2 separate regions of the Homo sapiens genome follow, and region 1 is linked to region 2. Evidence: promoter capture Hi-C in 16 types of primary human blood cells and fetal thymus (Javierre and others, 2016). All regions are on one chromosome and are shown on one strand. The core of a region is centred on a gene start or on the middle of the fragment in contact, and the rest is flanking DNA. Distances in the headings are between cores, read along the strand shown.

The links. The method cuts DNA at HindIII sites, captures the fragments that hold promoters and counts their contacts. A CHiCAGO score of 5 or more calls a contact.
Region 1: a fragment that was not itself captured here is called in contact with the fragment with the promoter of KLF14 in region 2 in 1 of 17 cell types (endothelial precursors); the score reaches 5.3 in endothelial precursors.

Annotation. Positions count from the first base shown.
Region 1 is chr7:130,461,518-130,466,722 of GRCh38, forward strand. No RefSeq gene overlaps it. Among named protein-coding and RNA genes, the nearest start is that of CEP41, 23 kb to the left of the region's middle. The HindIII fragment of the contact is 1,655 bases long and covers 537-2,191 here.
Region 2 is chr7:130,731,405-130,736,599 of GRCh38, forward strand. KLF14 (KLF transcription factor 14) reads right to left here and starts at 2,803. Exons shown (of 1, transcript NM_138693.4): 1 at 1-2,803. The coding sequence starts at 2,629. The coding sequence ends at 1,658. LOC105375508 (a long non-coding RNA gene) reads left to right here and starts at 2,860. Exons shown (of 4, transcript XR_927978.3): 1 at 2,860-2,978. RefSeq lists an enhancer at 1,874-2,411 and silencers at 2,307-2,466, 2,537-2,616. The HindIII fragment of the contact is 4,510 bases long and covers 1-3,855 here.

The DNA of each region.
Region 1 (5,205 bases), core at 114-2,613, 270 kb before region 2:
CACGAAGCAAGGGCGATGTTTTCCTCTGAATGCCTGTTCTCACCCTCACATGCAATTATGCAGGCATAGGCCAATGATAGGCAGGAAATTTGTTGATGAGTGCACAGCTCTTTCAAAAAAAAGCTGTGATTAGGTGTGGGGCAAATCAGCAGGTAGGGTCAAGCTACTCATGATAAGCCTGTATTGAACTAGATTCACCTGGAGGGAGACTTGTTTAAAAGGTATTTTCAGAGTACCTACAAAATTGCCTCATTTATGTTTTTTTCTCTCTTATTTCATTGATGTATTGAATTACATCCACTGACTTTAAAATGTTAAGCCAATCTTCCATTTTTGGGATAATCCCCCTTGGTCAGTTTTATTTATTGTTGCATTCAATTTATTAATATTTTGTCTATGTTTATGTATGTATGTTCATAAGGGATATTGGCCTGGAGTTTTATTTTCTTGTAATGTTTTTGGTTTCAGTATCACTGTATTGTTGGTCTCATAAAATGAATGTTTTCCCACCTCTGTTTTCTGAAACAATTTGTGTAAGCTTGGTATTATTTTTTCCTTGAATATTTAATAGAAGTCAGGGAAACCTCTCTCCTGTTCGGAGTTTCTCTTATAGGAATATTGTTTACACTTGACTTTATTGAGAATTTACACCCTTAAATTGTACCCATTTTAAGCATACCATCCAATGAATGTTGATAAATGTATATACCCGTGTAACCACAACTACAATCAATTCTGTCATCCTTATAAGTTCCCCTATGCTCTGGTCCAAGCAATATACATTAACCTGGTCCTAGGCTACCACTGGTCTGCTTATGTCACTGTGGATTAGACTTGCATTTTCTAGAATTTCATTTATATGAAATCATATGGTATGGTTATTGTGGTTCATCATACTGTTTTTAAGACTTATCCATGTTGTTGTAGGTATTAGTACTTAGTTACTTTTTATTGCTAAGTGTGGACATACTACAATCTGTGTATTTATTACCTGTTAATTGACCATTGGGCTGACTTCAGATTTTAGCTATTAATAAACCTACTATGAATATATATGTACAAGCCTTTGTGTGGACATATGTTTTTATTTCTCTAGTGTAAATAGGAATGGAACTGTTGGGTTGTATGGTAAATATACATTTAACTTTGTAAGAAATTGCCAAACTGTTTCTAAAGTGGCTGTACTATTTTATATTCCCATCCACAATATATGAGAGCCACAGTTTCTCAACACCTTCTCCAACACTCAGTATTCTCACTTTTAAAAATTGTAGTCATTCTAGTGGGTGTGTAGTAGTAAATTATTGTGGCTTCAGTTTGCATTTCTCTGATGACTTATGATATTGTACATCTTTTTGTGTGTTTGTTGGCTGTGCATCCTATTTTGTGAAGATCTCTTCAAACCCTTTGTCTATTTTTAATTGGGCAGTTTGTTTTTTTAATTCATGAGGTTTAAGAGTTCCACATATATTCTGAATACAAGTCGTTTGTCTGATACATGTTGTGAATACTTGCTTTTTTGGGGTATCGGTTATTATAAGTTGTATTTTTCAAGGACTTTCTCCATTTCATCTAGGTTTTCAAATTTACCAGCATAAAATTATTCATAATGTCTTTTTTTTTTTTTTTTTGAGACAGCATCTTACTCTGTCACCAGGCTGGAGTGCAGTGGTGTGATCTCAGTTCACCACAACCTCTGCCTCCTGGGTTCAAGCAATTCTCCTACCTCAGCCTCCCAAGTAGCTTGGATTACAGGAACATGCCACCACACCTGGCTAATTTTTGTATTTTTAGTAGAGATGGGGTTTCTCCATGTTGGCCAGGCTGGTCTTGAACTCCTGGCCTCAAGTGATCCACCCGCCTCAGCCTCCCAAAGTGCTGGGATTACAGGCATGAGCCACCACGCCTGGCCTCATAATGTCATTTTATTATCCTTTTAATGTCTGTGGGATCTGTGGTGGTAACTCTTCTTCACTCCTGTTATTAGCGATATGTGTTCTTTATCCCTTGATCAATCTAGCTAAGGGTTTGTTGGGTTTTTTGATGCTTTCAACGAAGTATCTTTTTACTTTGTTTATTGTTTTCATTATCTGTCTCTTTTCTCCTTTGTTAATTTCTGCTCTTTGTTATTTCTTTACTTTTATGGATTATGAGCTTATTTGCCCTTCTCTCTCCAGTTTTTGAAGGTGGAAGCTTAGGTTAATGATTTCAGATCTTTTTCCTTTGGATGAGGTATAAGCTTCCCTATGAGCACTGCCTTGGCTGCATCCCAGAAATTTTCATATGCAGTATTGTATTTTCCTTGTCATTTAATTCAAAATATGTTTTCATTCTCTTCATGATTTTATCCTTGATCCCAAATTATTTATGTTTGTTTAATTTCCTTTTATATGGTGTTGTGAAGATTATACAAAAGAAACTTGAACTCCCGTTGGCATTTGATTCAGTGCTAGATAGCTTTAAGTCTTAGTTCCTGCCTGTGTTTATTGCCTCCTGCAGTACCCTGATAAAGCTCACTCACCCTCAGGTCTCATAAGCACATGTGCCCTCTTGCTGCCTCTTTGAAATTTCATGCTAGGTGGAACCTCTTTTAAATCTCATGGTAGCAGGACGACTTTCTTTTTATAAACCATTGCACATTTGCTATTCACTCTGTCTGTATTCTGGACTTTGTCCCAGAGAGAGCCATCCTCTCCACCACTCACTTTGGGACTTCTACTCCTATGTGAGTAATTCATATTTATTTGATCATACCACAGAATTACTGTCATGTTGACATCCAAGCATAAAATTGGAGTGTCTCTATGCCATGTGGAATTGCTATAACAAGCTTTATGAGTTCTATTTTAATGTCTTTGTGGTCAGAGAATACACTCTGTATGATTTCCATCCTTTTACATTTATCGAAACTTGTTCTGTGGCCCAACATAGAGTTTGTAGTGGTGAATGTACCATGTGAACTTGAAAAAAATAAAGAGCATTCTAAAGTAATTGGGAATATTCTCTACAAATGTCAATTAGGTCAATTTGGTAAATAGTGTTGTTCAAGTATTTTATATCTTAACTTCTCTTCTGTCTATGTGTTCTATTAATTCCTGAGAAAGGCTGAGATCTCCAACTATAATTGTGAATTTCTCTAATTCTTTTAGTTCCATTAATATTTGCTTCATATATCTTGAAGCTCTGTTATCAGGTGCAAATACATTCAGTTTTGCTGTGTCTAGATGAACTGATTATTTTATCATTATGAAACGTCCTTTCAGCAGGATGAATTCTCGAATGACCCACAAAATGTCCTTCGTCTCTAGGGTACATGAACTGAATAATCTCTAGGACTTTCAATATGATGGAGTTTATTTCCAGGATTAAGTTATGTTATATGGGCACTAGTGATCTTAAGACTGAAATAATTGGCCAGGCACAGTGGCTCATGCCTGTAATCCCAGCACTTTGGGAGGCCCAGGTGGGCGGATCATGAGGTCAGGAGATTGAGACCATCCTGGCTAACATGGTGAAACCCCATCTCTACTAAAAATACAAACAAATTAGCTGGGCATGGTTGTGTGCGCCTGTAATCCCAGCTACTCCGGAGGCTGAGGCAGGAGAACGGTGTGAACTCGGGAGGCGGAGCTTGCAGTGAGCTGAGATCGCGCCACTGCACTCCAGCCTGGGCAACAGAGTGAGACTCCATCTCAAAAAAAAAAATTGAAAGAATTATCTGGGTAGGTCTGTCCTAAGTATATGAAAGCAGAGAGTTTTCTGCAGCTGGTCACAGAACAAGAGTCAAAAATTTGGAGCTTGAGGATTCAATGTCCTGTTGATGGCTTGAAGATGGCAAGGACCACATGTGGAGGACTGTTGGTAGCCTCTAGGAACTGAGAGCTACTCCTCCTTGACAGCCAGCAAAGAAATGAACTACTTGGCTGGGTGCAGTGGCTCATGCCTGTAATCCCAGCACTTTGGCAGGCCGAGGCAGGCAGATTGCATTAGCCCAGGAGTTTGAGACCAACCTGAGCAACATGGCAAATCCCCGTCTCTACTAAAAGTATAAAAAATTAGCCAGGCATGGTGGCACATGCCTGTAGTTGGAGCTACTCAAGAGGCTGAGGCAGGAGAATCACCTGAGCCCAGGAAGTCGAGACTGCAGTGAGCCATGATTGCATCCCTGTACTCCAGCCTGAGCAACGGGATTGAGACCCTGTTCAAAAAAAAAAGAGAGAGAGAGAGGAACCCAGTCATACTACCACAAGGAATTGAATTCTTTCAAGAACAAGAGTTAATTTGGAAGCAGATGTTCCCCCAGAACTTCCAGGTGAGAATTCAACCTGGCTGATACATGCCACACTGGACTTGCAATATACAAAACTACAAATTAATACATGGGATTGTTTTAAGCTGCTAGGCTTTGGTAATTTGTTATGCAGCAATAGAAAATTGATACAATCCTTCTTTATCTCTGTCAATACTCCTTATTCTGAAGTATACTTAATTTGATATATAGTCACCCTAGATTTCTTATAATTACTTTTCACATGTTATTTCTCTTTCCCTCTTTTTATTTTAGTCTCTTTCTGTCTATGTCAAGTGTGTTTCTTGTAGCCATCACAGAGTTGGGTCTGGTGTTTTTATTCACTGTGATAATTTCTGCCTTATAATTGAATATTTTTATTTCTTTATATTTAATTACATATATGGTTTAGCTTATGTCTACCACTTTGCTATTACTTTTCTATTTGTTCATCTTATTTTTTTCTTTTTCTCATTTTTCACCCTCTTTTGTTTTAATTGCTTATTTTTTAGTGTTTCATTTTATTTCCTCTATTGCATTACTAGCTATGGCTCTTTGATGTTTCTGTGGCTGTTCTATGTATAATAATATCCATCTTTACCTTATTACACCATGTTATAAATCATATTCTATCCCATTAAGTATGCCGCTGTATCTGTCTATATTCCCCTTCCGACCTTTGTGCTCTTGCCGTTTTCCTTCTACATATTAAATCCCACAATGCGTTGTTATTATTGGTATTTAAACAATTATACTTTAAAGGGATTACAGAAATGAGAAAAATTTATTTATTTTAACCCACATATTTACCATTTCTGATTTGTGTGTGTAGGGCAGTGGAGATCTAAGTTTCCTTTCTTCAAGAAGGAATAATTTTCCTTCAGGTATCATTTTCCTTCAGACTGAAAAATTTCATT
Region 2 (5,195 bases), core at 1,553-4,052:
CCCAGAGAGGAGGAAGAGATGGGGGTAATCAAGTGTGAGGGAAAGAGTCACTTAGCAGGCCAGACACCTAAGTTCTAGTCATGGCTCTTCCCAGCAACCTAGCATATGACTTTGAGCTTATCTAGTCTTCAGTATCCTCATCTGCAAAATAGGGGAAAGCAATTTGTTTAACCAGATGCCCGTTAGGGTCCTATGAGATTACAGCATCTTCCCCAAGTGTCAGTGATGGACTATTGCAAAATATTCAGGAGGGGGCCAGAGGGGATCTCCCAGGGCAGGAAATGCCTTTCAGCCTCATCTCTAAAGAAAGGGTCACATATATACACATTCATACATACACAAGCAGAGTGGTCAGTGATTTCATCCACAGCAGCAGAGACACATATAGAAAAAACAAATACTGTTGATGTCTGATTCCTTCTTATCGGGAAAGGGGCCCTGAGGATATAACTTGGAGGGACTATATGGTCAGAGGAGAAAGTTCCTCCTATTTCATAATAGCTATCACCTTGCTACTCCTTCCTCAAATCCAAGGCAGCCAGCTCCTTGGAAGAAACCAGTCTGTTACCCTTCCCTCTCCCACCCACCAACTCACCTGTTTCAGAAACGAAAATCTGCAGACTCTGAGGGAAATAACCCCCTAGTTAGCCATTAGGAAATTAACAGAATCTACCACTCCTGAGATTACATAAGGTGGGGCAGCTGTGTCCACACGCCTCTATTTCCCTGAAAGTTATCAATGGTTATGAGCGGTCTTGTTTCGGGCCCCGCCCAAACTTAAGGTCGCTTGAGTTTTCTCTCTGAGTGAAGGGGGAACTAGTCTGGACCACCCTTTTCTTGCTGGTGCCTTTACGGTAGTTTTCAAATTGTTTAACCAATCTCAGCGTGAGAGTGAGCCAGGAAGTTACCATCCTCAAGTAGGAATCCAAATGGGGAGAAGGGCTACGACGCAAGCGCAGGGTTCCAAATCATGCAACAGGACCTGCAAACAGACTCACACCCCAGACATCAAGAAGTATCTCCCAGCCACACATCTACATGGAGCTTATGTGGCCTCTCCTAGCAGAGGTAGCTGGGGCAATTGGGGGATTGGAGGGCATAAGCCTCCCATCAACCTGGGATCCCTATTTAAAAGATGCTAAAAATAAATTAGTAAACATTGCTGTTTACAGAAATAGAAATCATTTCTGTTTCCAAAGGCCTCTCACCATCCCAGTCCTGGACATTTCCAAGACTGCCACCCCTGACACCCTCTCCAAGGTCCGCCCTGGTGGATGGGTGAGACACCAGAGTCCTTTGAGACTGGGAGCTCCTCAGGCATCTGAGAATTCCAGTTTCACATCCCTGGTTCCAGGGAGGGGAGAATCTTCAGTACTCTGGAGAGTACGGGAGTTCATCCCTTCTTATCAGTTCCTGGGGGCTGTCTTGAGGCAACCCCCACTTTTAGGATGATATACACGTTGCAAGAATTCCCGCTATTTTCCGGCCCCCAGTACCTCCCCAGAGTCCACATGTCTGCCTGGACCCACCCTCAGAGCAGAGGAACCAGTCTGTGCCTTGGTGTAATGACTCTGGGAAAGAAGGATGGGCAGAGAGAAAGCAGGGACAACGGCCTGGGGGATCATCCTTGAGGGTAAGACTGACAGCAATGACTGTCCTACAGGCAGGTGGTGAAGCTGGGCGCCGGGCCGGGACCGGAGCCGGAGGCGGAGCTTTCCACCTCGCTGGTGAGTGGCGGGTCGATGCGGGGAGTTCGACGACGTCCCCGGTACTCGATCATATCTGGATGATAGGTTGGGTGGCGGCGAGCATGCTTGGTCAGGTGGTCGCTCCGGGAGAACTGCTTGGGGCAGAGGGGGCAGGAGAAGCGCTTCTCGCCCGTGTGCGTCCTGTAGTGGCGGGCCAGCTCGTCGGAACGCGTAAACTTCTTGTCGCAGTCGAGCCAGTCGCAGGAGAAAGGGCGCTCACCCGTGTGGGTGCGCTGGTGGGACTTGAGGTGCGACGACTTGTAATAGGCTTTGGTGCAGCCCGGGAAGGGGCATTGGTGGCGCTTGGCAGCAGGTGTGACAGACCTCCTCCGGGGCGCCTGATCCGCGGCGGGGGCGGGGCCTGCCCCTAGGGCCCCTCCAGAGAACCCACCAGAGGCTGCTGGTGCGCCCGGGGCAGCAGGCGCGCTTGGGACGGCGGGCGCATCGGAGGAGCTCTCGGGAGCGCAGACCGCCGCGGCGCCGGAGGCGGGAGCCAGCTCGGAGCACGGGGTCTGGACGGAGCACGGGATCGGGTCGGAGAAGCCGGACGAGGCGCGTGGAGCTTCCCCCGAGTTCTCCCAGGAGCCCTCGCCAGAGCTGCCGCGCAAGTCCGCCCAGACGCTTGCAGCCAGCAGGTGGGGCGCGGCGCCGCCCGCGCCGGGGCTGGGGGCGGGGACCTGCGGGAGCTGGGGGACCGACGCGGGCCCCGGTGGCCCCGGACCCGGCAGAGCGGACTCCGGCGGCGCCGCACCCACCTCCGAGCCAGCGGCTCCACCCGCGCCCTCGGGGTCCGGCGGGCGGCGGTGAACCACGGCGCCCGCGGACATGGACACCAGGCACTCGGCGGCGAAGTAGTCCAGGCACGCCACGGCGGCCGACATGCTGGGACCGCCCGGCCGCCGGCGAGCGCCGTCCGAACGCGGCCGGCCGCGGGCGACGGAGTTCCCGGGAGCGTCCGTCCCGCAGCCTCGGAGCGAGAAGCAGGAGGCCGGGTGCTCGCCGCCTGCCGCCTGCTGCCGCCGCCGCCGCCGCAGCCGCCGCTGCCGCCGCCGCCCGCGCGGAGCCCGCCCCGCCTGACGCGCCCCTGACGCACCGGAGCCCGCGGGGGCGGCAGAGACCCGCCCCGGCCCGCAGGACACCCCCTCGGAACGCGCGGCCCCCGGCTAAGTCATGTTTAACAGCCTCAGAAATTATCTTGTCTCCGCGTTCTTTCTTCTGCCGGCGAGCCAGGTAATGGTAACAGAGCGAAACTCCCCAGTCGGAACTTCTGGGTTGCAGCAGCCTCGCCCCCCCTCCCCGCAGCCCGCCGCCCGCTGGTCCGTCGCCAGCTGGGTGTCCCGCGGAGTCCCAGAAAGTTTTTTTTTTTTTTAAGGAAAAAAATTGCTAATACCTGACATGTCTTTCGGTTCATAATTGCGATTGTTAGCGAAGTGGTCTCGAATTCCATTTCACTCCCCGTTCGCCGCTCTCAGACTAAATTGCAAATATCCCCAAGTCTGTAGCAAAAAAAGTTTTCTCATTGAGCAGGTCAACTGTGAACCCGGGGCCGGGAGCAGTTCCCTAAATAGATCCGCTACGTAGCCATTAATTAATAGCATCTCGAACCAGAAACAGTTTTAACCTTGGAAAAGCAAAGAATCCTCTCCCGGTTGAAATTGAAACTTAAAATCCTTTGAGTAACGATTTAACTATTCAGCCAACGAAAGAAAAATGCATGTTTAAACTGCATTAACCTGTCACTGGCATCCAAACAAATTTAAACGCTGAGATATAAATTATAGTCTAGCGGCGAGATAAACACATTAAAATGGACTCCCACCATTTTAATAATAGAAAGTCACGTTTCCAATTAGGCATTATCTTGTAATTTGCTTTTGACGAAAGTTAAATGTAAGGAAATGCAGCACATGATATAGAATGCTCATATGGTGTTTTGTGATTGTGGAGGTTTGCCTTTTTTATAATCAAATGCATGTACGGTTTCTTTTACGTGTCTTCATTGCTCTCATTTTTTCCCTCGTTTTTCTTTTTAAAAATGTAAAACTACATAGAAAAACAAACAGGATAATTTCTAAAAATAGTCATATCTTAGTTTTTGATGTATACAAGCTTTTATATGAGTGAATTGTGTGCATTTTATTTGTAGTTCTTCAGTACTTTTTCTTTTGAAAATTAATACGTATGTATCAAGAATAACATACGTTCATGTATTTACTGCCTAGGGTAATCAAATGTGAAATTTTTGTTATAGTTGTTTCATGTTTTTATTTATATTAAACATTACAGATAGAGTTGAATGTCACTTTGTTTCCCTCCCCAGTTCCATTCACCTTTCTCCCTCTTCACTTTTCTAGGTAATTAGTATTATAAAGTGGCTATTTAATCTGCATTTGTTTTGATACCCGTATTACCTAATTATACATGTAAATATATGTATATCTCCATGCTTATTTATTAAAATTTTTAAGTAAATGGTTCACTAGTATACATATCATTTTGCAACTTCTTTCCCTCAATATGATTTTGACAGCTATCCAGGTTGACACCTATAGAATCTACTTTATTCATTTCAGCAGTTTTTAAATAATATTGTCAGTGTTATTATTTTTAAGGCGATTCCATTGCAAAACAGTTAATTTTTCTGAAGTTCCTCTAGACGATTAACTCTTCGTTAATCTACACATTAAAATCTATCAGATAGAATAATTTACTAGCTGTTTTAATTTTATTATTTAGAAAAAATGTGAAGATATTTAAAATGCAGAGAGAACATTACAAGCACCCATATACCTGTCTCATATAATGAATATGTTAACATTTTGTTATATCTCCCTCAGATCTATTAAGTATTCAACATTTCTGATAAAATTGAAGGTCCCCTTGTACTGCCCCCAATACCATTCTCCACCCTTTTCCCCAAAGGCAAACACTAACATGAATTTGGTATGTAACTTTCCAGTCTGGGTTTTACAATTTAACTGGATGTGAACCTATAAAATGCAGAATATTGGTTTATATGATTTTTTTAAATGTACAAACATGGTATTAGGCTGTGCATATTATTCTTGGACTTATTTTTTTCATTCATGGTATGTTTTTATTTTTTCTCTTCGTGTTGATAAATATAGATCCAATTCATTCATTTTAATTGCTATAGTGTGGATCCATGCATACAAATGTGTCCTGTTTATTCATTCCCCTATTGATGAATATTAAACTGCTGCCAATATTTTGGTACTACTTGTACATGTTTCCTTTGCACATATGTGAGAATTTCTCTATGTATCTACCTAGATGGGGAATTGCCGGGCTCCACACACATTTTCAGTTTTGCGAGAGACTGCCAAATGCTTCAATTTGCACACCCATCAGAAGTGTGTGACAGTTCACGTTTCCCTCACATGATCTTCAACACTTTCTAGATTAAGATTTTTATTATTCCTGCCA